5 separate regions of the Homo sapiens genome follow, and regions 2, 3, 4 and 5 are each linked to region 1. The links are contacts of gene promoters, found by promoter capture Hi-C in blood cells and fetal thymus (Javierre and others, 2016). All regions are on one chromosome and are shown on one strand. Each heading gives the region's core, a stretch centred on a gene start or on the middle of the fragment in contact. The rest is flanking DNA. Distances are from core to core; before and after follow the strand shown. Region 1 holds the start of GCG (glucagon). Region 2 has its middle 58 kb from the start of SLC4A10. Region 3 overlaps PSMD14-DT (PSMD14 divergent transcript). Region 4 has its middle 18 kb from the start of SLC4A10. Region 5 holds the start of TBR1 (T-box brain transcription factor 1).

Region 1 (5,416 bases), core at 2,689-5,188:
TAATATGGGAAATTTCAAACATAAATAAAGTAAGCAGAATTGCACAATGAACCCTGTTTATCCATCAGCCAGCTTCAACAATTATCAGTATTTTGCCATGGTTGTGTCATCTGTACCTCCACCCACACCTCAGACTTCTTTTTTTTTTTTGTAACTATTCTTTTTTTTCCTTTTAGGTAAAATTTACATAAATTAAAAATCACGAATCTTAGCTGTACTATTTTGATAATCGGATAAACCTGGTAACACATACCCTTATCATAATATAGAATATTTCCATCTCCCCAGAAAGTTCCCTCTTAGGCAATCCTCTCCCATCCTCTTCCAAGAAACAACCACAGTTCTGAGATTTTTAACTTCAATTTTGCCTGTTTTTGAACTTCTATAAATGGATTCATACAGTATATAGTTGTTCATGTCCATCTTCTTTTATGCAGCATAATGTCTGCAAAATTTTTCCACATTGCTGCCTGAGTCAGCTGTTGCTTAATTTTTGTTGCTGTATGAATTCCGTATCACAAATTGTTTTCTTTCTCTTGTTGATGGATACTTCAGTTAGTTTTTAAGTATTGTAAATAAAGCTTATCTGAACACTTTTTTACAAGTCATTTTGTGGATATATGTTTTTATTTCTCTTGGATAAAATACCCAGGAGTGGATTGCTAGGTCAAAGGGTAATTGTACATTTAGCTCTAAAGTTTTACCTTTTTCCAAAGTAGTTGTACTGTCACTCCTTTTTAAATTACATTTTTTGGTTTGTTTTGAATGGGTAATTCTATCAAATGGTCAAACAATCCAAACCACATAGCAGGTATATAAAAGAAGTATTCTTTGCATCCTGTCCCTGTCCACATGCACCCCACTTATCCACACTGCCTCCTACAGGTAAGCACTTTCATCAGCTTCTTGTCTATTTTAATTTTTTGACGCAATTATGAAAAATAAACACGTATTTCTGCCCCTCTCCCTTCTAAAACAAAAGGTAGCCTACTACATACCCATTCTGCACTTTCTTGTTTTCAACTAACAACATAACTTGGAGTCTTTCCCTACTGGTAAATAGACAGCGTCTTCATTTTTTTTTTTTTTCTAAACAGTGCTCTATTGCTGGCCCCTTGGATTAGTTCCCACCTGTTACTCTTCTACTCAACCTTGTACCTACATCATTACATATCTACATAGCAATATATGTGGGATAAATGTTCAGAATAGTGCTTTAGCCTTACTGGACCAAGAACTATAGGTATTAGTCACTTCGATAAGTATTACCAAACCACCTTTCAAAGGAGTTAATATTTTGTACTCCCATCAGCAACGCCTGAGAGTTCTCCCTACCCATAGACTTCCCATCGCAGCGCACTGTGAACCTGGATCTTTGCCATTCTCAACTATTCCTAAGTATTCCGAGCAGCTACAGAAAATAAACACACAATAACCCCACAATGCATGGTTTTGTGTAAATTTTTAAGAATTTTGAGGTGGTAAAAGCATTAAGGCAAGCATGAGGTCCTGCATGCAGCTTCATGCAGCTGCACAGGTTGTAAATCTGTGGAAATTGTCCTTAGGACTAAACATCATAAAGAAATCATATATGTCACTAGTCATAGACATACAGGGCTACCACTTTCCTTGCCTCACATCTAAATCACTGAATAACTGTATTGATGGGAATAGGCCAAGTAGAGGCTCATGCCAGAACAGTGATAGGAAGAAGATCTGCAAGTCCAAATTGCACTTGAGTTCTGTCTTAATTTCTGACAATTCGGTGTCCATGAAGAAGCCTGACTTGCCCCTCCTAGAGAGGAGAGCAGCACACAATGCAGTGGGGTTCTTATTGCTTATACATCCTGAGAATGCTTACCCTTATGGTACTGGGAGCCCCAAGAATCAGTGTCAGTGGGCTGGAGATAAAGTCACAGGAAATTTTCTGAAACAACTTGGGATAGTCACTTCTAGAATAATGGAAGCAAGTAGAGTGGAGGGAAAGAAAAATGTTTGGTAGTTAAATATTGGGAGAGGATAATTACTGAAAGGCCAGTGCTATGTTGAAGATTTTATATATATGATCTGCAGATCTTCCTTCTTAGGGCTGCTCCACAAACAAGTAGAGTCTGAAAAGGAAAGAGAGAGACAGAGACAGAGAGACAGAAAGAAACATCTGCTCAAATAGACAAATAGACAATGGGAAAAGTAGAACTGAATCTGCCAAAACGATTAAAAATATAGCGAATAGTTGTGTGAAGATTGTAGCCAGAGAGAAAGACAATGTAATCATACATTAAATCAATCCACTCTTTCAAGCTATTACCGTATTTATAAGTATTACTCTCTAGACCGACCTAAGGCTTGACACCTTTCTCTGCTCTTTCACCCCCTCTGCTGGTAGAGTGCCAAGAAGCAGGTCTCAGATCAAGACACCAGCAGTACCAATGAGGAGATAAAGTGAGGCAGATATTTTATGCAGCTGTGCTTCTCAAATTTTAATATGAACACAGATTTCCTTAGGATTTTGTTAAAATACAGATTCTGATAGGCACGAGATTCTGCATTTCTAGCAAGCTCCCAGATGATGCTGGTCCTTAGACCACACTTTGCAAAGCAAGGCTTTCTAGCACCCAATAATCACCAGCACAAAAACCCCTCAATGATGTCTTCCAGTCTGACTTGAAAGTGATCTCTGTGGCCTTCAAGTAGCTCTACATTCAAACGTTGGTCTCATGCACAAATTGAACAGTTAAGTTCATTTGGAATATTTCTCCAGTTGCCTCAATGATTTACCTCCATACAAGTCATCAGTGACATCATGCGGTTGGTTATATTAGAATATTGGAATCTAGTTAGGAAATGTTGTGATGAGTTTGCAATATGGAATAAAATTTTTATTTTAGAAAAGACATTTACCAACCCCTCTCATTTTACAAATAAGGAGGCAGAGACACAAAGAGAATGCGTGACTTGACCAAGGTCACACAGCTGGTCAATAACAGCAAAACTAAAATCAAATTATGCCAACACTACTTCTTATGCTGTCTTTCCAGATTATTTACCATTTTTCTATTTCTCTACAGTGACCAGAATCATTTCTGCTAAATGTCACAGATCATTAAAGCCTGTGTGTCCAGTCACAAAACTCAGGAAACGTGAAAATATGCATCTCATCTCAACAGTTTTCCTCATATCTCATTCTTTTGTAACTTAGTACCCCACTCTCTTATCAGTAAAATTAGATTTTAAATATATATTAGAAGGAAAAAAATACCAGATAATTTCCTGTTAGCATCAGCTATCTTGGATGTTTAATCTTCATTTTGCTCCATCCTTTCTGCCTGAATTCCATTTATTAAAACAGAACACATAGGGGTTTAATCAATATCCTTAAATTTTCCACAAACATAACATAAATAAACTCCACGTTGTGAGGAAGAGAGGATTTTTAATACATATGTGTTGAATGAATGATCATTATTTAGATAAATGAATGACTGAAGTGATTGTTATATTCAGGTAAATTCATCATGGCTAGGTAGCAAACCAAAGACTTGTAAGAACCTCAAATGAGGACATGCACAAAACAGGGATGGCCATGGGCTACGTAATTTCAAGGTCTTTTGTCTTCAACGTCAAAATTCACTTTAGAGAACTTAAGTGATTTTCATGCGTGATTGAAAGTAGAAGGTGGATTTCCAAGCTGCTCTCTCCATTCCCAACCAAAAAAAAAAAAAAAAGATACAAGAGTGCATAAAAAGTTTCCAGGTCTCTAAGGTCTCTCACCCAATATAAGCATAGAATGCAGATGAGCAAAGTGAGTGGGAGAGGGAAGTCATTTGTAACAAAAACTCATTATTTACAGATGAGAAATTTATATTGTCAGCGTAATATCTGTGAGGCTAAACAGAGCTGGAGAGTATATAAAAGCAGTGCGCCTTGGTGCAGAAGTACAGAGCTTAGGACACAGAGCACATCAAAAGTTCCCAAAGAGGGCTTGCTCTCTCTTCACCTGCTCTGTTCTACAGCACACTACCAGAAGGTAAGATGATTATAAAATTGTAAATCCTGTTTGGCGGACAGTGAAGTATTTTTAAGGGATCAAAATATTATAAATTAAAATGTTGTTCTTTCATCTTAGACTTTATTACTAATAGTACACAGAGAGGAACTGAGATGGAAAAGGTTATATCAAATGCATTTACGTGTACTTTAATATAGCGAAGCCGCAAAGCGAGTTGGAAAAATAATTATATGCAAAAATATAAAACAGAAAAAAAACAAAGATTCAAATCAATGCACTTGTTATAATACTTAACTGTTATGAGAGTTGTATTTTAAAATAATTGGTAACATTTTGAAGAATAAATATTTTTCTTGGACTTGATAGATCTGTATACTACTTTGAACAGAAGGCGTCTTTTAAAGTAAGCAGAAATGTGTCCATTAGGGAGCCTATAACAGAAATTGCTTTTTACCAATTAAAATCTCTGGTTTTCCAAAAGAGCAAATTAAATAACATCTTTCAAATATTCAAATTTCAGACATCTATCAAAAAATCAAAGTCCATTAAAGCAACTCTTTGTAAATAAAACATAGCGTACTTGGTGCAGAGAACAAGTGTCATCTATTTGGGGGGTTTTCTTTGGATGCATCTGAGTGAAGCCATACATTAATAACTATTTACTATGTATTGAGGATAAATAGTAATAAAATCTAAAATAGCTACCCTCTGCAATAAAATTTTAATTTGTCTTTTTAGATTAGGCTCCTAGAGACAAAAAACAAATTTACAAAGATCTTTGATGGAGTAAATGATTAAGTGGTGTATTTTTCCATACATACTGAAGACCTATTACATAAAATGAGCTAACCAGTTTGAAAAAGGATTTATATGGACTACAATGCCAACACATTTGGGGATAGAACATAATGTCTTCTTTTTTAGGTCTAAGGTTAATCTTTCTGTAAGACTTCCTACTTATTATTGTTACCATACTTTCCTTTAAATTTTAGTGGAAATTTGTAGTTCTTACAAAACTGCAGGCTCTCTTTAGACTACCTAAAGAGGGGGGAAATTAACTGGAAATTATTTTCTTATTGAATAAGATTTTAATACTAAAATAACATAAATCTCTACTTTCTCAGCAATTGTATTCAAACAATTAACTCTATTCTTTTTTTTTTCACAATTCGATAGACTTTCACAAACAAATAAGTGAGATTTTTAAAGCCAGTTCTTTCTTCAGAAGAAGTCATTTATTGTTGGTAATATTATTAGATACGGAACGCTCACTTCTTTATGTGGTTTATGGTTGTTCTTTCTTCCATCAGCTCCTGAAGTGGCAGGATACCTCCTGCTCTAAATCCTCCTCAATGGAACATAATAGGAGATATTGCAAAACGCTTAGGACTTTGGGTGGAATGAATT
Region 2 (5,207 bases), core at 1,519-4,018, 590 kb after region 1:
TTATTCAAGAAGAGAAAGTAAAAGACTGCAGTCATAACTGAGTCTCAGATGTAAAGGCATTAGTGGAGAGTAAAGAACAAGTCTCTCTGGAGCCCATATCTGGCTTCAGTTCCAAGCATTGCACATTTAGTGACAGGGCCCTTTATGTTCACCCCAGGATCACACTTCTCAGAGCCCCTTCACCAATCATGCTACAACTGCTGGCAGAAAGGACCTTTCAGCTCCATGGGGCTGGAGTTGTTTCCTGCTTATCTTGGACTAGGGGTGTTCCCAGGAAAGCCTCAGTGTTAGAATGCAATGGCCCAGAAACCACAGCTTATCCGTTCCCAGAAGGGAAGACTTTCACAAGTTCCTTCGTTGGAAAGAAATTCGACTGATATAAGAAGTTTGAAACCCCCAATCAGACTTACAATCTCCAAATTCTCTCTAATGAAGCTCTTGGGAGCTGTACAAAAAGGCTGGACTAAGTGCAATACCACCATAAAGAAGAGTAGAGTCAGTGGTATCACAGTGCTCTTTAAAGGATACTTCATCCTATTTTGTAGCTGGAGTTTCATGCATCTGAAGCTGCAGTACTGGTGTAAGTAGTGTTGACCTGGACGTCACTTAAGAAATCTTTGGGCTCTGTTCTGTTCCATTGGTCTATATCTCTGTTGTGGTACCAGTATCATGCTGTTTTGGTTACTGCAGACTTGTAGTATAGTTTGAAGTCAGGTAGCGTGATGCCTCCAGCTTTGTTCTTTTGGCTTAGGATTGTCTTGGCAATGCGGGCTCTTTTTTGGTTCCATATGAACTTTAAAGTAGTTTTTTCCAATTCTGTGAAGAAAGTCAATGGTAGCTTGATGGGGACAGCACAGAATCTATAAATTACCTTGGGCAGTATGGCCATTTTCACGATATTGATTCTTCCTATCCATGAGCATGGAATGTTCTTCCATTTGTTTGTGTCCTCTTTTATTTCATTGAGCAGTGGTTTGTAGTTCTCCTTGAAGAGGTCCTTCGCATCCCTTGTACGTTGGATTCCTAGGTATTTTATTCCCTTTGAAGCAATTGTGAATGGGAGTTCACTCATGATTTGGCTCTCTGTTTTTCTGTTACTGGTGTATAAGAATGCTTGTGATTTTTGCACATCAATTTTGTATCCTAAGATTTGCTGAAGTTGCTCCTCAGCTTAAGGAGATTTGGGGCTAAGACGATGGGGTTTTCTAAATATACAATCATGTCATCTGCAAACGGACAATCTGACTTCCTCTTTTCCTAATTGAATACACTTTATTTCTTTCTCCTGCCTGATTTCCCTGGCCAGAAATTCCAACACTATGTTAAATACAAGTGGTGAGAGAGGGCATCCCAGTCTTGTGCCAGTTTTCAAAGGGAATGCTTCCAATTTTGCCCATTCAGTATGATATTGGCTGTGGGTTTGTCATAAATAGCTCTTATTATTTTGAGATACGTTCCATCAATACCTAGTTTATTGAGAGTTTTTAGCATGAAGGGTTGTTGGATTTTGTCAAAGGCCTTTTCTGCATCTATTGAAATAATCATGTGGTTTTTTTCTTTGGTTCTGTTTATCTGCTGGATTACATTTATTGATTTGCATATGTTGAACAAGCCTTGCATCACAGGGATGAAGCCCACTTGATCATGGTGGATAAGCTTTTTGATGTGCTGCTGGATTCGGTTTTCCAGTATTTTATTAAGGATTTTTGCATCAGTGCTCATCAAGGATATTGGTCTAAAATTCTCTTTTTTTGTTGTGTCTCTGCCAGGCTTTGGTATCAGGATGATGTTGGTCTCACAAAATGAGTTAGGGATGATTCCCTCTGTTTGTATTGATTGGAATAGTTTCAGAAGGAATGGTACCAGCTCCTCCTTGTACCTCTGGTAGAATTTGGGTGTAAATCCATCTGGTCCTGGACTTTTTTTGGTTGGTAGGCTATTAATTATTGCCTCAATTTCAGAGCCTGTTATTGGTCTATTCAGGGATTCAACTTCTTCCTGGTTTAGTCTTGGGAGGGTGTATGTGTCCAGGAATTTATTCGTTTCTTCTAGATTTTAATACCACACATCTACAACCATCTGATCTTTGACAAACATGACAAAAACAAGAAATGGGGAAAGGATTCCCTATTTAATAAATGGTGTTGGGAAAACTGGCTAGCCATATGTAGAAAGCTGAAACTGGATCCCTTCCTTACTCCTTATACAAAAATTAATTCAAGATGGATTAAAGACTTAAATGTTAGACCTAAAACCATAAAAACCCTAGAAGAAAACCTAGGCAATACCATTCAGGACATAGGCATGGGCAAAGACTTCATGTCTAAAACACCAAAAGCAATGGCAACAAAAGCCAATATTGACAAATGGGATCTAATTAAACTAAAGAGCTTCTGCACAGCAAAAGAAACTATCATGAGAGTGAACAGGCAACCTACAGAATGGGAGAAAATTTTTGCAATCTACCCATCTGACAAAGGGCTAATATCCACAATCTACAAAGAACTCAAACAAACTTACAAGAAAAAAACAAACAACCCCATCAAAAAGTGGGTGAAGGATATAAACAGACACTTCTCAAAAGAAGACATTTATGCAGCCAACAGACACATGAAAAAATGCTCATCATCACTGGCCATCAGAGAAATGAAAATCAAAACCACAGTGAGATACCATCTCACATCAGTTAGAATGGCAATCATTAAAAAGTCAGGAAACAACAGGTGCTGGAGAGGATGTAGAGAAATAGGAACACTTTTACACTGTTGGTGGGACTGTAAACTAGTTCAACCATTGTGGAAATCAGTGTGGCGATTCCTCAAGGATCTAAAACTAGAAATACCATTTGACCCAGCCATCCCATTACTGGGTATATACCCAAAGGATTATAAATCATGCTGCTATAAAGACACATGCACATGTATGTTTATCGTGACACTATTCACAATAGCAAGGACTTGGAACCAACCCAAATGTCCAACAATGATAGACTGGATTAAGAAAATGTGGCACATATACACCATGGAATACTATGCAGCCATAAAAAATGATGAGGTCATGTCCTTTGTAGGGACATGGATGAAGCTGGAAACCATCATTCTCAGCAACCTATCACAAGGAGAGAAAACCAAACACCGCACATTCTCACTCATAGGTGGGAACTGAACAATGAGAACACTTGGACACAGGAAGGGGCACTTCAAACACCGGGGCCTGCCGTGGGGTGGGGGGAGGGGGAGGGATAACATTAGGAGATATACCTAAAGTAAATGACGAGTTAATGGGTGCAGCACACCAGCATGGCATATGTGTACATATGTAACAAACCTGCACATTGTGCACATGTACCCTAGAACTTAAAGTATAAGTGAAAAAAAAAGAAAGAAAAAGAAATCTTTGGAACTACAAGGGGCATACAATGGAGCTGACTTCAATACATAGTTAATAATTTAAAATGGCATTTAGAGCAAGAAGAGGGAGTGAAAAGAATAAAATTATTGAAATCTGTAACAATTATATAGAAAGTAAATTTTTTATTAATGTGAACAAAAAAATGAAAAGGTGACTGCTATACCAGATGCACAGATATCAATGGAAGGACGTAGGAAACATGAAAAAGTAGGGATTTTTGACACCACACAACAATTGCATGGCAGCAGATCCAAATAAAAAAGAATGCCTCAAAATGCCAGATAAATAAACCAAAATATTGATTTTAACAAAGCTCAATGAGGTGCAAGAGAAATATGAAAAACAGTACAAAAAAGTTCAGAATATGGATGAGAAATTTACCAAGGAAATAGATATCTTTTAAAAAAATGCAGATATTGTGGATGTAAAAAATTCATTGAAGAAAATACAAAATACATTTGAAAGCTTCAATAATAGACTAGATCAAGCAGAAGAAAAAAATCTCAGAACTTGAAAACAAATCTTTTTCTTTCCTTCAATTTTTATTTTACGTTCCAGGGTACCAATGCAGGATGTGCAGTCTGTTACATAGGTAAATGTGTGCCATGGTGGTTTGCTGCACAGATCAACCTATAACCTAGGTATTAAGCCCAGCATCCATTAGCTATTCTTCCTGATGCTCTCTCCTCCCACCCCTTACCCTCTGAGAGGCCTCAGTGTGTGTTGTTCCTCCCCATGTGTCCATGTGTTGTTATCATTCAGCTCCCACTTATAAGTGAGAACATGTGGTATTTGATTTTCTGTTCCTGTATTAGTTTGCTGAGGATAATGGCTTCCAGCCATATCCCTGCAGAGGACATGATCTCATTTCTTTTTTATGGCTGCATAGTATTCCATGGTGTATATGTGCCACATTTTCTTTGTTTAGTCTATTATTGATGAGCATGTGGGTTGATTCCATATATTTGCATTGTGAATAGTGCTGCAATGAGCACATGCATGCATTTATCTTTATAATAGAATGATTTATATTCCTTTGGGTATATATCCAGTATTGGGATTGCTGGATCAAATGTTATTTCTGCTTCTAGATCTTCCACAATAACTTACATTCCCACCAACAGTGAAAAAGTGTTCCTTTTTCTCCACAGCCTCACCAGCATCTGCGCTTTCTTGACTTTTTAATAATCACCATTCTGACTGGCATGAGATGGTATCTCATTGTGGGTTTGATTTGCATTTCTCTAATCATCAGTGATGTTGAGCTTTTTAAAATATATTTGTTGGCCACATGAATGTCATCTCTTGAGAAGTGTCTGTTCATGTCCTTTGCCCACTTTTTAATGGGGTTGTTTGTTTTTTTCTTGTAAATTTGAAAACAGGTCTTTTGAAATATTCCAGTCAGACAAAAATAAGGAAAAAACTAAATAAAAGAATTAAAAAAGGCTTTGAGACATCTGGGACTACACAAAGTGACCAAACTTATGTATTATCATTATTCCCAAGGGAGCAGAGAGATCAAATTTAGAAAACCTACTTTAGAAAATAATCAGTGAAAAATTTCCAAGTCTATCAAGAAAGTTGACATCCAAATAGAGAAGGTCCAGCCATCCCTAGGCAAATACATTACAAAAAGGACTTCCCATAGCATATTATATTAAGAATGTCTAAAGTCAAAGTGAAACAAAGAATTTTTAAACTGACTAGAGAAGAGCACCTAGTCATCTATTAAAAAAAAAAAAAAAACAACTCTCATCAGACTAACAGTGGACTTTTCTGAAGAAACCTTACAGGCC
Region 3 (5,234 bases), core at 716-3,215, 910 kb after region 1:
TCAGGTGATCTGCCTGCCTCGGCCTCCCAAAGTGCTTGGATTACAGGCGTGAGCCACCTCACCTGGCCGACAACTTTAAATAATAAACCCCACTCCAGTGTCAGGTAATGTCAGGCCCCCTACTCTCTCTGTGGTTTATTCTTTTGTGTAAAAAGACTTTGGATAGGACTTAGGCTTCCTCTGAAACAAAGTACAAAGTCAGTGAAACACTGTATTTTATTTGAGGTAAGGGCTGGTTATGGAAAAAACAATAGTTTGAAAAAGACAGGAGAGCTTGAGTTGAGTTCCAACTATTTGAGTAGGTGTGAGGGACTCATTTATTCTCTTTAGATACAGTGGGGTTTTTTTGTTTGTTTCTTTATTGTTTGTTTTGTCCACACAAAAAGAAAGTTGAATTAGGCAGTCTTTAACATTTTCTTTTAAAAACAACTATTCCTTGAATTATTTTAAAGTGAAAAGTCATTATTTTTACAGTCCTTCCAAAGGATATTAACAAGATAGTTTTTGAATGTATTCATGGTATAGCCCTAAACAACAAAGGACACATGGGCAAGTGCCAGGATATCCAGGCCTTCTGGATTCCAAGGGGACATTCAACCATGGGAGATGGGTTAAACGTCAAAGGGTTGCATAATCAGGTACAGATTCTCTGAAAATGTGTGAGTGATTTTGAGATAGACATAACCCTCTATAGTCAGGACAAGGGGATAACATGTTTGAGAACTTACTTCAGTCCTATTAGGGGATTGATGCTTCAGAGAAAAGAGGACTACAATAAGATGAAAGCTACAGCTATGCAGTAAATAAACGTGGCATAATCATTCTGAATATTCTAGTGCTTGGTGCACTTTAAAGTGTGTGAATTCATCCATGAGGAGCTCTGAGGATGGAGGAAGTTGGCAATCTAGGAACTGGTCCTAGAAATGACCCAAGAAACTTGCTTCTTTGTATCTTTTTGGTGATAGAAGATGATGTTTCTTTTAATTTGAGGCCTTCTTGAACTGTAAGCTCCCACAATCTTTCGCTAAACAGACTTCATTCACATTCTGAATCTGGTTTTTGTCTCACACATATTAAATTTTACAAAACAGAAAGAAACAATAGAGCTTATTAGGAAAAACTTGTTTTGAATAGTAAATTAAGCATAATGGAAATAGGCACATGTTTTAGCACGGTTTTTTCCCCTTTTTTACCAATTGAACATTTACATCTTTTTCAAAGTGCTGTGATTTTCCCCTTAAGTCTTAAGCTGGCACCACACACTTTCAACAAATGAGACTTACATCACTTGTATCTGCTGAGAGAAATCATTGTAATACTGTGGATTCCAAATGCACAGCCTTCCAAAAAAGAGTTTTAGTCACCCCTAAACTGTATTAATCAAATCAATGTGGCATTCTAAGAATCCAAAGAACTACTTAATTTCAAAGACAGTGTAAATCAACTGGCAGCTCTGACTGATTTCAAAATATGCCGTTTTCAGAGACTGGAAACCTGTATATTCAGAGGTACACCTGACTACATGGTGTGTTATTAAGAGATATGCCCCAGGTGGAGGAATCTTCAAAGCCAATATATTTTCTTTATAACTGGTGTCAAATTGATGTATATATTAAAAAATCTTGGAAAATGATCTCAAAAAGGAAGTAACAGCCCAATGAGCCATATGTTCAGGGAACCTAACAGGTTTCCATTGGGACCAAATTTCACTTCACCTTTTTGTCCTTATGTGCAAATAAAAACTTATCTGTAAATACACCGTTAAAACAGTCATGCAAATTTGTGAGGTCTGTATACTGAGAGGAAATTACACTAAGCCTGTATAAACCAAGTTATTGGAAGATAAATAATTTGGTGAGATACATAACAACATGGGATTGAACTAAATTTGTTTGAGCTCTGTAGATTCACAGCTTTAGAGAGACATTGCTTCTACAGAATTGGTTAATGAAGCAAAGGCTGGTGAATAGTTAATAAATTGCTTAATTTTGATGCTGATGGAACATCTGAATCTCCACGTTTACATGAATAAATATAAAGTTAAAATTTGTTTTGCTGTTAGATAGGTTGCTATTTTAACAGATTCAGACACAAGGGAATTTTCCAAATGCCAGCTAATACTGTAGCATCAAGAAGTCTGTATATGCCAAGGGCAGAGGCCTGCTTAGTGGTTTTCCAAAGAGTGGAAAGCAGAAAGCATTAACATTTACTTACACAAAATCCTTTATGTAACTCTTCTAAGATTTTTCAACTTAAAAACTTTAAAACGTTCTGTATGATTTTAGTAGATCTGAAGTTTGCATTCAGCTATTCTATTGGTATGCCTGGGCATATTCTAAAAGGAAAAATGATTCACTCTGCACTTGTGTAGTTTTTCACATGACTAGGATCAATGAGGATGGTATAAAAATACCAAAATTTACTCATTTTAATTTCATTTTTGTGTACTTTTATCATGAAATATTACAAAGCAGAATAATATAAATGAAACCTTTGTGTATATATGACTGAGCTTTAGCAAACCTTATTTTAAATTGATTTTTTAAAAAGGAACAATGGTGTGTATAAAGTTATGCAAAGGTAGGGGTCAGCAGAAGAAACAATTACACTGCACAGGTTTTTAGTTACTCTGGAGGTCCATCTATGGCTTACGGGGAAGGAAGTTTTATGATGTTTATAAGGGTAGTTTATGTAAACCCGTAACAGTAAAAATATTTTAATGGTAGGAATAAAAGTGCCTTTTAAGTGCAACAATCAGCTTTTACGGTCAAAAAGTAACAGGAGGTTGTATGAAATCTCAGGTCCCCGCCTGCATCAACAGGTATGAAAGGCTTTTTTCAGCAGACTCGGGTTCCGATGGGCTCTTTGTCGGAGGGGCGGCCAGGGCGCTGCTGTTTTTGACTAGCTTGTCTCGGGCCAGAGTATAGAACAGAGCGGCCAGGCGGGGAGCTGGGCCTCCAGATCAGGTCCTGCCCCCATCTGCCCCACAGTCTTCGCGGCAGGGGGGAGCGCGGCCCGCTTCTTTCCAGGCCCTTCTCTCCCCGCGACGGTCTTTCGAGGGAACTCTCGAGGCCCAGACGGCCCCTTAATCTAGTCTTGGGGTCAGGAGGTCAGGCCTTGGAAGCACAGCTAATGCTAAGGCCCTTTATGTATCTTCGCTGCGATCATTTAAACCGTGGACCGGTAGCTCTGGCAAAAAAGGGGCTCCAGGGGTCTAAGAGCCGCAGCGCGCGAGGCGTGGCGGGGGGCGCTGACCTCGCCGACTCGCCGCAGGCCAGCGGGGCGCGGCCACTGCAGGGCGGGTTGGGGGCGGCTGGAGGCCTCGGGGTGGCGGCCACGCTCGGGCAGGGCAGGAGATCTGCGCTCAGTCCTGGAGCCCTTCTTGGCCTTTGTGGCCCTGTCACTCTTTTCACCCCTGGCTGGCCCTAGCCCTTTCTGAATTCGCCTGGACTCCCAGTCGCGCTCGCTGGCCGACGCGGTCGATTCACCAGACAGCGAGTGGGCGTGAGAACGCAGGCTCTTCGGCCGCTTCCCCAGTACGTGGATCCCGGAGCGCGGGTCCTCGCCCCACCGCCCCGGGGAGTGGGCGCGCGGCGCAGGCCGAGCCCTCGGGCGAGCCCGCGCGGGGCTGCACTCCACCGGGCCGGCGCTGGGGGCCGCGCGGGGGCTCCTGGCCCGCTAGGGACTCGGTGGCGGTGGCTGGGTTCCACTCGCCAGCGGCGGGAAGGACGCGCGGGAAAGCGAGGGAGCAGGAAGCGGGTGGCGGCGGCGGCGCGGGGCCCGCTGGAAAGGAGGGAGCGCCGCAGGCGGGAGGAGGGAGCGCGGAGGAGGGAGGCCGGGAGGAAGGAGGGAGCGCGGCAGGCAGGCGGAGGGAGGGCTGATTAGCATGCAGCAGCGCTCGCGCGCCCGGCTCCATTGTTTTAACACCTCCCCTCTCCTCCGCGCCAATCTGTCACCGTTCAGCAGGCGAACGCTGCTGCCTCAAATGCTGCTCTTCTCAAATGAGACGGATAATTAGTTGCCCCGCACGAATGCCGCACTCTTCTCACCCCTGATTGCTATCACCTTCTTGCTCCTGGCAGTTTTGACACCTCGTAATCAGCCTGCTGCTTTTCTCTTTTCTTCCCGACTTCTGCTTCCCTCCCCCCGCTTTCCTTCCTAGTTTATTTATTTATTTATTATTATTATTTTAAATGCAATCCCGGTGCTTATTTGGGCGAGTCCTCCGCCGAGTTAACCTTTCGCGTATACATGTGTGCATTTATCTGTATATGGGAAATTGGGTGTCTGTGCGTGAGCGGGGGGCGGGCTGGCAGTTTTGCGGGAAACACTGCTTCCACGCCGAGAGAACTCGCTTCTCCTAAAGATATTTTTGGGAAGGGAGGAGTTGCAGAGAGGGACGGGAGGGGAGAGTTGGGGAGACCTCAATTAATGCTTTAAAGATCTCTTAGAAATTAACAAACTGGGGAGTCTTGGAATCTGCTGTCAGAAGCGTGTTTTCCCCTCTCTCCTCTAACAAGCACTGACAGTCTAATTACTGTAGCTACAAGCAGCTGTCGAGGCAGCAGCCCGGGAGAGGAGGCGCCACAGGCTGGGCGCGCCCGGCCGGCCCCTGCGCCCAGCCGAACCGCCGAAGCACGGCCCGACTCGGGGAAGGACTCAGGGAGGATGGAGAGGGGCAAGGCCCCGCGCCCGAGAACCCCGGCGGGCCTGCGAGCCAGCGGACACGCTTATTGTTTCCTTAAGTCTTTACCTTGAAGGTTAAAAGATGTGACGAAAGGAGGGGACGTGGGGGGAGTGGGAAGAAAATCTTCTAAGCTTCTATCCACCCCTTTTCTACCTCCTCGAGCTCTCCCTCCCCCCGTGTTGGTAAAATAACCACGCAACCCGGGGCTGAGGGGGCGGGGTGAGCCAGGCTGGAGTGTAAGAAAGCAGATGTCCCCGCTGGCAGCAGCCTCAGCCTCCGGGGAAAGCTGCACCGGGGGGGCCCTCCCGAGGACATTCACCTCCCACTTCTCAGGCATCCCGCTCACAACTGCCTCGCCTCGGCGGGGGTGGTTTTTTCAGACTCGGCGTTTCGCGTGTGCAGCTTTTTTACCTGGGAGCTGTTCTTACCCGGCCACGCTTAGCAGATGCCAAAAGCCAGACCCTGCACGACTCAGTCATGAGACAGAGGGAGAGACCTGGCGGGTGCCCACTCCACCTTTAGAGCGGTGACCCGCGCTCCCTCTGTA
Region 4 (5,686 bases), core at 1,943-4,442, 550 kb after region 1:
AACAATCATATGAAAAAAAGTTCAACATCACTGACCATTACAGAAATGCAAACCAAAACCACAATTAGATAGGATCTCACACCAGTCAGAATGACTATTATTAAAGAGTAAAAGAATAACAGGCGCTGGTGAGGTTTTGGAGAAAAAGGAAACCTTATACACTGTTGGTGGGAGTGTAAATTAGTTCAGCCATTGTAGAAGACAGTGTGGTGACTCCTCAAAAACCTAAAGACAGAAATACCATTCAACCCAGCAATCCCATTACTGAGTATATACCCGAAGGAATAGAAATCATTCTATTATAAAGACACTTGTATGCATATGTTCACTGCAGAACTATTCACAATAGCAAAAACATGTAATCCACCTAAATGTCCATCAGTGGTAGACTGGATAAAGAAAATGTGGTACATATGCACCATGGAATACTATGCAACCATAAAAAAGAATGAGATCATGTCCTTTGCAGGGACATGGATGGAGCTGGAGTCCATTATCCTTAGCAAACAAATGCAGGAACAGAAAACCAAATACTGCATGTTCTCATTTAGAAGTGGAAGCTAAATGATGAGAACACATGGACACAGAGAGGGGAACAACACAAACTGGGGCCTTTCAGAGGTTGGAGAGTGGGAAAGAGGGAGAGGATCAGCAAAAATAAGTAATGGGTATTTGGCTTAATACCTGGGTAATGAAATAATCTATACAACAAACCCCCATGACACAAGTTTACCTATGTAACAAACCTGCACTTGTACCTCTGAACTTACAAGTTAAAAAAAAATTAAAGAATATCTAAATAAAGGAAGAGACATTCCATGTTCATGAATCAGAAGACTTTGTTAAGATATCTTCTTGTTAAGATGGTAATATTACATCTTATAAATCTAAGGCAATAAATCTAATTGACTTCTTTTAGATAGAAATTTTAAGGCAATTTCTATCAAACTCCCAGGAGGCTTTTTTTTGGCAGAAATTGACAAGGCAAACCTAAAATTCATATGAAAATTCAAAGGAAACAGAATATCTAAAACAGAATATCTAAAATAAAACAAGTAGTTTGGGGTACTTACACATCTTAATCTCAAAGCTCACTCTAAAGCTACAATAATCAAGATAATGTGGTACTGGCATAGGAAGATAGATAGATAGATAGATAGATAGATAGATAGATAGATAGATAGATAGATAGATAAAATAGAATTGAAAGTCCAGGAATAAAGTTAACTTTCATATTATATACGAAACATACTTCTTAAAAGGTGCAAGACAGTTCAATGGGGAAGACAGGGTCTTTTCAACAACTCATTCTAAAACAATTAGATATCTACATGCAAAAGGACTAATTTGAACCCTTGCCTTATGCCATACACGAAAATTAATGAAAAATAAATCATGGACCTGTGTGTAAGAACTGAAACCACAAAACTTCTTAGAAGAAAACATAAGGGCAAATCTTCATGACTTTTGGTTAAGCAACGATTTTTAGATAGGACACCAAAAGAACAAATAATAAAAGAAAAAAATAATGTAGACTTTTTGTGTTCCAAAAGACACTATCAAGCAAATAAAAAGACATGATCTAGACAGACAGAAAACATTTGCAAATTATAGATCTTATAAGGGACTCATCTATAATCTATAAAGAACTCCTAAAACTCAATAAGAAAGGACAAAATATTTGAATCGATATATTCCCCCCAGAAAAGATATGTTAATAGCCAGTAAGCACATTAAAAGATGTCCAACATCCCTAGTCATTAGGAAAGTGCAAATCAAAACCACAGTGACATACCAGTTCACATTCTCTAGAATGGCTATAATCAGAAAGACTGATAATAACAGTTGGAAGGCTGTGGAGAAATTGGAGCACTATATGTTGCTATTGGGACTGTAAAATGGTGCAGACACCTTGAAAAAGTTTGGCAATTTCTTAAAATGTTAAACATAAATTTACCATATAACCCAGCAATTTCACTCCAAGATGTATATCCAGAATTTTACCAACCTAGGTAAGACAATTAGGTATTTCCCCCAAAGTGAAAACATCTATCCACACAAAGAACGGTATCCAAATATTAATAGTAGCACAAGTCATAGTAGGCAAAAAGTGGAAACAACACAAATGCCAGACAGCAACTGAAAAATTATAAACAAAAAGGGGTATTACAATGTAATACTTTTTTATAATAAAAAATGAAGTACTGATACACAGTACAACATGAATGAACCTCAGAAACATTATGCTAAGTGAAAGAAGTCACATACAAAAGACCACATGCGGTATGATTCTACTTATACAAAACATCCAGTAAATTCAAATCTAGAGACAAAAAGTAGATAAGTGATTGCCTAAGACAGGGTGGGAATGACCACAAATGAAAATGAAGTTTCTCTTCAGGGTGATGGAGACTTTCTAAAGTAAGAATGTGGTGGTGGTTGCGCAGCCCTTTAAATACACTAAAAATCATTGAATTGTATTCTTAAAAGTGGTAAATTTATGGATGCAAATTATACCTCAATAAAACTGTTCAATAAAAAGCAAAGACAAATATAAAATACATCTGACAAAATACAAAACTTTAAGGAGGTTATTAAATGACCATCAGTACAAGAAATTAAGTTAAAGGGAGCTACTCAAAAAGAAAGAAAGATATCACATGGAAAAGTAGATCTACACAAAGAATTGAAGTACTGGAAATGGTCAATATGCGGTATGTGTAAAACAAGCTTTTTCTTATCTTTAAAAACTCTTAACAGGTAACTGTTTAAAGCAAAAATATTATCAGTGTCATATGGAGTTTATAACATAGGCAGTAATAAATATATGACAAAACTACCACAAAAGAGAATAAAAGGAAATGGAAGTATACCATTGCAGGTTCTTATCCAATATGTCAAGTGAAAAAAAAATATTAGAAAGTAGACTGTGGCATGTTAAAATATAATTTGTAAATGCTTAAGCAAACACTAAAAACAAAACAAAAAACACAGTTTAAAAGTCAATAAAATAGATAAAATGTCATCATAAAAATTACACAATCCAAAAGAATACAGGAAAAAGGCAACGAATGCGTCAAATAGAAAAAAAATAGAAAGATGGTTGAGGTATACTCCTCTATATAAATTACACATTTATTATAAAGTATCTTGTTAATCTGTTACATACAATTTCCTCCCTTATTCCTGCTTTTTTATTCCTAAAATATGCCCAGCACATAGCAGACGAGTAATAAATATATGCCGAATGACAGTTAAATTATTAGAAGAATGGCTGACAGATAAATACAAATTTGAAAGCCACTCATATGGTTTTCTAAGAGTTATCTTTTAAGAATGTAGCTCCTTTCTGGGATGAAATAATAAAATATATAATTAATAAAGAATTATTGATTTTGTGAACTGTCAAAAATCTTCAACTTCTGTCTCAGACAAACTTCAGAAATATGAATTTTTAAATCCACCCAGGCAATAAAGCAATTAAAAAGCAAAAGAATATATATTCCCAATAGTATTTAGAATGTGGCCTTATATGCTGTGGGCACCTTCCCTATTCCTGCTAGGCTGAGTCATTATTTTCTACTTCTATTAATACCAGCAAGTATTACAAAAACCAAAACTTGAGACTGGCTTTTGGTTTAATGGGAAGCTTATGAAAATCATCACCTTTTATCAAGAGCATGCTTCAAAATGAAAGTCAGCTATTGCCTTTTCGGTTCCTATGAATTACCTGTCTAGATTAAAGTGTCTGCCTTAATAGTACTTCATTGTCTTGTTCTGCTAACTTGTCTGCCTGGTTTCTGGTCTTCTGCCTTCCCCTAATGTTCAATTGGTTTATCTATAAACCTGAATTCTGCCTGCCTGCCTGGTTTCAGATTCACTTCTTCACCTGGAGTCACAATTCATATCTGACTCAAAAAGTCCAATTATCTGCCTCCAGACAGATTATCTAGTATACCCAAATGCTAACTTATCTCAGTCTCAATTCTGTTCTGCTCCCTGCTGCTTAAGCCCAAATGAATACTCTGAAACTTGTACCCTAAGATCCATAAAAAAATGAAGTCATTTTAGCATTATGTATATATACACAAATTACATTTATATTAAGACTAGAAACAAGTATTCAAGAACACTGAGCTGGAGTCAACAATCATTTTCTGTCTAACACAGTTTGAAAACCAACTGTACTCTCTACAACCTGGTTTAAATAACCCAATTTTTGTTAGCACTCATCTCAGTTGTTTTAGCTAAATCTCAAATAGATACATTAGTATACGCTAGAGAAATGTACAGATTTCTGCATGTGCCATGTATACCCTATATATTTACTATCATCTCTTGAAATTATTATATGTGTCAATTAACAAAAGCTAAGGGAAAATATCAACTGAAAAACATTTTAATCTGATTATAAGATTTTATTTTTGGTTTACTTTACACTTTAATATGTAATAACTCTCTGGGAAAAACTTGGGTTCCAGTAAGATTTAATGACTTTAAGTGTTTACATATTTCTACTTTTCAGCACAAATTTGTGATAACATATAAACTATACTTTGAATGTTATGTGCAGTGTTCAGCATTTTACACAGTAAATTCACTTACTGTTAAAAACATTAAAAATATTTTAATTTTTCACTTAAGTACAATATTCATTAAGCAACTCTTAAATAGTTAATATGAAAGCACATGGATCAGTACACTACTAAATTGTGAGAAATTAAATGTTATAACCCCAAGTATTGCTTTAGGAATAACATTTTAAATGTATGTTCCCCTTTAACATAAAATAAATGAATAGGCAACTCAGACCTAATGAAATAATCGTATTTATAATTCAGCATAATGTATTATAAGGGTTTTTTATTTGACTACAGCTTATATAATAGTATAGAGCATATTTGCTTAATCTCATTTAGTGAGACCCAGAAACTATTTACTATGCAAATCACAATTTTTTAAAGCAAAATTTAAAGATTACGACAAAGAGGAAGAAGTAGCCAATTCATCCCAATAAATTTAATAAGAAGTTCAGGCATCTTATAATCAGAAAACTCTATTGAGGTAAAATTCATATAACATAAAAGACACCATTTTAGTCATCTTAAAGTGCACATTCAGTGGCATTGAGAACATTCACAATGTTGTGCAACCATCCACCAATTTCTAGTTCCAGAACATTTTCCCTGCCGCAAAAGAAAGCCCATGCCCATTCATCAGTCACTCCTCATTTGCCCCAAACCCCATGCCCTAGCAATCAGTAACCTTTCTGCCCCTGGGAATCTGCCTATTCTGGATATTTCCTACAAATGGAATCATACAGTATGTGGCCTTTTATGACTGGCTTCTTTCAGTTAGTATGAAGTTTTCAAGCTTCATTCTTATTGTAGCATGAATTAGTACTTCATTCCTTTGTATGCCTGAATGACATTCTATTGAATACATATACTGTATTTTGCTTAGCCACCCAACTGTTGATAGACATTGTGGTTGTTTCCGCTTTTTGGATATGGTGAATAGTGCTATGAACATTTGTTTACAAGATTTTGTTTGAACATCTGTTTTCATTTCATATGAGTGTTTACCAAGGAGTGGAATTGCTGGATCATATGGTAACTGTAAGTAGGACTTTTTGAGGAATTGCCAAACTGTTTTCCACAGAAACTGCACAATTTTATATTCCCAC
Region 5 (4,914 bases), core at 1,364-3,863, 740 kb after region 1:
GGACTGTAAAACCACCATCTGTCCGGCGGGAAGAAAGGGGAGCGCCGGGTGGCGTGTTAACGCGGTCGCTGTGCGCGTGGCTGTGTGCGCCCGGCTGCGCGCCCGGGCCGGCGGAGGCAGCCTGCAGCCCGCCTTCCAGGCTAACTGACCGCGGGACTCGCCTGGCTGGCGGCTGGCTGGCTGGGGCAGACCGGCTTTCGCACCTCTGGGAGCGAAGATAAGCCGGGGCACCGGAAAAAAGGGGGAAGCCGACCGCCCGATCCTCAGGGCCCTTCTCCTAGTCCTCCTGTAAGGAGGAACAAAGATTTCCACAACCTGCAGATCTTGTGGGGTTTCTTCTCAAAATCAATCAGTATTAGTACTTGGGAAGGTCGGGCACTCCAAAATTGGGCCGACGGAGGTGTTGCCAATGAGAACAACTTTACAGATTTAATATAAATTTGGAGGGTGGAAATACAATTTTTAAGTCTTTTTAATGAAGCAAAGAAACGTGTATCCAGTTCCATATGCTGCTTTACACTGACGAACTGGATGTCAGGGAGGAAGGGGTGAGAGAGAGAGAAAACACGAGCGCTTGAGCCACTGACCTGCCCATTGTTATTTGAAGCTCCTTTGTTGTTCGTAAGTTTTAATTTTCCAAAAGAGATTTCTTGGCGCATCCAGTGAGCCCCAGTGTTGGGGGAATCCGGATGCATATAGACCCGATTTCCTAGAGAAAGAAATACATTGTTTACATATGCCCCTGGCACTGCCCAGTCCCAGCTCCTCACCACGTAGGACACACACACACACACACACACACACACACACACATACACACACCTTACTCCACCATGAAGCCCATTAACTGGGGCTTTTTTAGGCCATTCTTTCTTCCTATTAACTGGGGGTGATTAAAATAGCTTTTGCATAATCCTCCCCCTTCTCGCAGCTCAGTCTGTCCCCCTGTCCCCCTCGTTTCCTTTTAGAAGTCATTGGCCGATCGTTTTAAAAGTCGCTCGAGCCAGTCCACAAAGGCTTTAATTAATCATTCTCACCTAAATAAGTGTCAAGAAAATGTGTTAATTGGAAGGACTTGCCTTGCACATTGGTGTCCGCTTTGCCGCAAGGAACCCATTTGCCTCCTTGAAACCTCCAGTGATTGGGATCCGCCAAAATCACATCCACAAAAATATTGTAATGAGCCGTGGGATCGAGACCAGAAATGTTAAAACTTAAAAAAGGAAACATGCGCCTATTTAAATTAAGGGGTGGGGGGAGAAAACAAGGAAAAAAGAAACATAAATGTTAAAGATTAAATGCAAGAAGCGGGGCGCCAGTTAGCAAAGCAAAACTTGTACTTGCAGCAAATAGGCGAATATTTGCTGGATTAGAAAAAGGGTGGTGGGAGAAGAAAAGAAGTGCAACCCAAATCAGGGAGAGCGGCGGGTGAGCTGGAGTGGGAAGGTGGCAGTTATCACTGCCCAGGTGGAGAGCGAGGTTGGCGACCTGCGTCTCCACCTGTCCGTGCATGCCAGTGTTGATGCGTCCCTCCCATCGCCCAGCCGCTGGCCAGGGCTCTTCCTTTTTCTTGCCTTCCTCTGGCCACTGACTGGCTCTCCCACTATGTTCCTAGAACGGGGTCCCCCCCACCAACATCACCCTGGCGGTTATCCCTTCCACTTTCCCCCTTTCCAAAACTAGCCAACTCTAGGGCGCCTTCCACTCCGCTCCCGACCCCAAATCGTCGCTGCCGCGGCAGTCACAGCCTAGGTGCACTTGTCCCCGGCTGCGCCTAGAGCAGCGGCAGCCAAAAATGTAGTATTACCTTCCCTGTTTGGTGATGATCATCTCCGTTTGGTGCCGGTGAAATTTCAGCCAAAGGGGCCTGTTGCACAGGTACACCTGTGCTTTGCCGGGCACCAGCCCCGGCTGGGTGGAGGAGAACTGGTAGAACGGAGCTCCTTGGTAGGAGTGGCCGTACTGCTGTGGGTAGGGGTAGCCGGCCGTGGGGTATCCCTGCGGCGAGGAGTTGGACAGGAGGCTGTTGTAGGCTCCGTTGGTGATGACCGGGTGGTGGGCCATGTAGCGGCTAGGGCTGCCGATGGAGAAGGCGGGGTGCGCCGGTCCGTGCTGGCCGGGGTACGGGAACATGGCACTGGGAGCAGTGGCCGCAGACTGTGGCTGGCTGGACTGAGAGAGGAGGTAGCGATCTGCAGCAGAGCCATCGAAACTGTGACGAAGCTCAGAGACCCCGTCCAAGACAGGAGAGAGTTTACTTCTCTGGACGTCCCCTGGTGAGTCCTTGGAGTCAGGAAAATTGTCTGTATCTGACTGATTCGTCATCCCCCTGGTAATTTTTTTCAAAGGTGAACTTCTCTCCAGGTTGTCAGTGGTCGAGATAATGGGATGATCGTGCAAGACAAGCTCGGATCCGCCTGAATGTGGGTAGCTGCTGCTCACATTGAGAAATTTCTTGGAGAGCATGATAGAAGGAGAAAGGCAGTGCTCCAGCTGCATAGCTCTAGAACCTGAACACTCGCCCTCCCGTCCCTGGTTTTTAAAGTCCTATTTATCATAAACTAGAAATCCACAGACCCCCTCACTAGACAGAAAGCACTTCAACCAGCAAATGCTTCTCAAAGGTTTGATTTACTTTTTTTTTTCCCTGGGAGAAGAGATTGGCCAATTGACACTATGCAGCAATCAGAAAAGGCTCACTTTTGATCTTGCTGCTTGTGCAGCCGATGAAACGGCTCCTGCCATTGGTTAGCTGCTGACAGTAATTTAATTAGATAGACATTAATTAGGATAATCACCTGGCTCCTGGTAGCGACGATCATGGCAAATTGAAGGGGATGATTTTATTGTTGGCTTGGGGGGTGGGGAATGTGTGTTGGTTTACGTGAGCACTGTTGTGTCACCTTTAAGCTCTGTGACCACTGCTTTAGGAAGATTCAAAGATGTGGAATTTACTAAACATTTCCTACCTTCCCCCCCTTCCCCCCTTTAGAGCGGAGGGGCGGAGGAGGGAATTCGACGATGCTAGGAGACTTTTCGGATCTGAATGAGCCAAATATTCAGTTGAATGTAACGATTTCAAGTGCAAAGTATACAAAGCGCGAGCCGGTGGCCTCTTCTCGCCCTGTAAAAGTTCCAGAGTCTGTCTTTTCCAGCTAATACAAAAGCACACAACACCTGAGCTGGTGCTTTGTGAGCAGATCCTACATGTCCTCGGCGCCCCCACCCCCACCTTTTAAACTGCAAACATAAATAAATAAATCCCTGCTGCTGAGAGCCACAGCGACAAGCAGAAGGGGGGAGGAGAGGGGGCGAAAAGCAGCAACTCACCCACCAATCCACCCACCTCAGGAAGGTTCGGTTTCTTGGTTGAGTACAGAAACAGTGACAATCTATGATCTCCTTTTTAAGTTTTGAAATAATCATAAGCTGTCGGGCTGAAATGCCTTAATGTATTTGCAGTGATGTTTACCGGCTCTTTATTAAATATTTTATCAGCGCACTTGGTTGCAGATTATCTGAAGAACATCTAACTGGGGGCAGGCGCCATGCATCCTTCTCGTCCCTCTGCATTTCCTTCTCTCTGAGGTACTGGCTTGGCGACAGGTTCAAAAGCCTCGCCAGGAAAAGAGAGGGCCGAGTCCCCGTGCAAATGGGCTCGTCAGAAGCGCTGATCTGGGGAGACAGAGTGGAAGTGGTGTCAACACAGTAATCGCTACTGAAAACGTGTGTGTGTGTGTACGTGTGTGTGTTTAATGTTTATATAATCTGGAGGGGAGAAAAAGCATCCATGCCAATAATTTTTAAAAGGAAAAAGAATCTAAAGAGGAATAGAAAAAAACCAATTTAAAAAGATGTTGGCACAAATAAATAGCACGAGGCCCGAAGAGACCCCGAGGTGTAGGGAGGAAGTCTCCCAGCACCGGCTCTACAGAGGAGCCCAGCCCTCGGCCTGAGCCAGAGGGCCAAGAGCGGCAGAGGCTTTTTATCTGCCCAAAGCTGCCTCCCGCGGCCCGGCGCTCGCTGACCTGCCCTCCCGCGGCTTTCCTCCCGGACGCCGAGCCGCGCGGGAATGAGCAGGAGGAGCGCCGCCCAGAGCTCCGCTCGGCCCCGAGAGCTGGCCGGCCCGAGGGCGGGCTCCGCCCGGGAGACTGAAGGAGCAAGGGGTGAGCTGCGTCTGGCGCAGACCCCAGGGGCACACGCTCTTCCCGGGCTGGAGGAGCGGCCTGGGCACCTCAGCCGGGGGAGCCTCTGGCTTCGAGCGAGCGCGTCTGTCCTACCCGGGCCGGGGCAGCTCCCGGAGTGAGAGCAGCGCCTGGGGACATTGGGTGGGTCCTGAGCATGGGCGGAGACGGGTTATCCAGACTCGCCGCTTCGCCACTGTGGTGCATTTTCAGAGCTGCGCCTCGGTGGGCCGAGCGGTCAGCGCTGAGCCGAGACTGCGCCCCTCCAGGCGGGCTGAGCGCCTTGGCTGCAGAGGGCACCAGCTGCGGCCTCCATCAACGCGCCGCGGGCAAGGCCCTGCGCTGGCGGCCTGGGCAGGGCAGGTTGTTGACCAGATGTCCCAGACTAAAGCCGAGACAATTTTCTGGGATAAAAAGAGAGCCAGACCCATTTTTCCTTTCGAAAGCAAACCTCAGCTCCTGGCCAGGAAGCTTCATAAACAAGCAGTCTTAGCTGTTGAATCGTTGGGGTGCGGGGGAGGGGAGTAGGGGATGCCATTTGACACTTGTTTTTCTGCCCTTGACCTTCTACTGCCATTTGCCCTCATGAGAGGCTTTTGACCTCTTGACTACTTTTGGCTACTTTTGTTTCCTTCTTTCTCCATCTTCAACTTCTCTGTCCCTGAGTGCCTCTCCCTCCGGTGCTTCGGAAGACAGTACTTTCCTCCGTTCTCAGTGGGACAGAGCCTTA

The links. Contacts are between HindIII fragments. The CHiCAGO score rates a contact against its expected background, and 5 or more counts as called.
Region 2: a fragment that was not itself captured here is called in contact with the fragment with the promoter of GCG in region 1 in 4 of 17 cell types (activated CD4 T cells, total CD8 T cells, naive CD4 T cells and 1 more); the score reaches 6.4 in activated CD4 T cells.
Region 3: a contact is called between a fragment that was not itself captured here and the fragment with the promoter of GCG in region 1, in 1 of 17 cell types (megakaryocytes). The highest score is 5.2, in megakaryocytes.
Region 4: a fragment that was not itself captured here is called in contact with the fragment with the promoter of GCG in region 1 in 7 of 17 cell types (naive CD8 T cells, total CD4 T cells, fetal thymus and 4 more); the score reaches 7.3 in naive CD8 T cells.
Region 5: a contact is called between the fragment with the promoter of TBR1 here and the fragment with the promoter of GCG in region 1, in 2 of 17 cell types (total CD4 T cells and M0 macrophages). The highest score is 5.7, in total CD4 T cells.

The regions. Positions count from the first base shown.
Region 1 is chr2:162,150,769-162,156,184 of GRCh38, reverse strand. GCG (glucagon) reads left to right here and starts at 3,938. Exons shown (of 6, transcript NM_002054.5): 1 at 3,938-4,027. All of the region lies in intron 1 of LOC101929532 (a long non-coding RNA gene), which reads right to left. RefSeq lists a promoter at 2,329-4,050. The HindIII fragment of the contact is 4,864 bases long and covers 584-5,416 here.
Region 2 is chr2:161,563,862-161,569,068 of GRCh38, reverse strand. It overlaps the pseudogene MTNAP1P1. Among named protein-coding and RNA genes, the nearest start is that of SLC4A10, 58 kb to the left of the region's middle. The HindIII fragment of the contact is 2,220 bases long and covers 1,659-3,878 here.
Region 3 is chr2:161,237,445-161,242,678 of GRCh38, reverse strand. All of the region lies in intron 3 of PSMD14-DT (PSMD14 divergent transcript), which reads left to right. Among named protein-coding and RNA genes, the nearest start is that of LINC01806, 4.7 kb to the left of the region's middle. RefSeq lists silencers at 3,378-3,447, 3,538-3,907 and an enhancer at 3,739-4,295. The HindIII fragment of the contact is 5,710 bases long and covers 1-4,820 here.
Region 4 is chr2:161,603,179-161,608,864 of GRCh38, reverse strand. No RefSeq gene overlaps it. Among named protein-coding and RNA genes, the nearest start is that of SLC4A10, 18 kb to the left of the region's middle. The HindIII fragment of the contact is 919 bases long and covers 2,733-3,651 here.
Region 5 is chr2:161,413,996-161,418,909 of GRCh38, reverse strand. TBR1 (T-box brain transcription factor 1) reads right to left here and starts at 2,613. Exons shown (of 6, transcript NM_006593.4): 1 at 1,808-2,613; 2 at 1,080-1,234; 3 at 588-709; 4 at 1-18. The coding sequence starts at 2,499. RefSeq lists enhancers at 1,865-2,487, 4,249-4,398 and silencers at 3,909-3,958, 4,029-4,198. The HindIII fragment of the contact is 4,993 bases long and covers 1-4,657 here.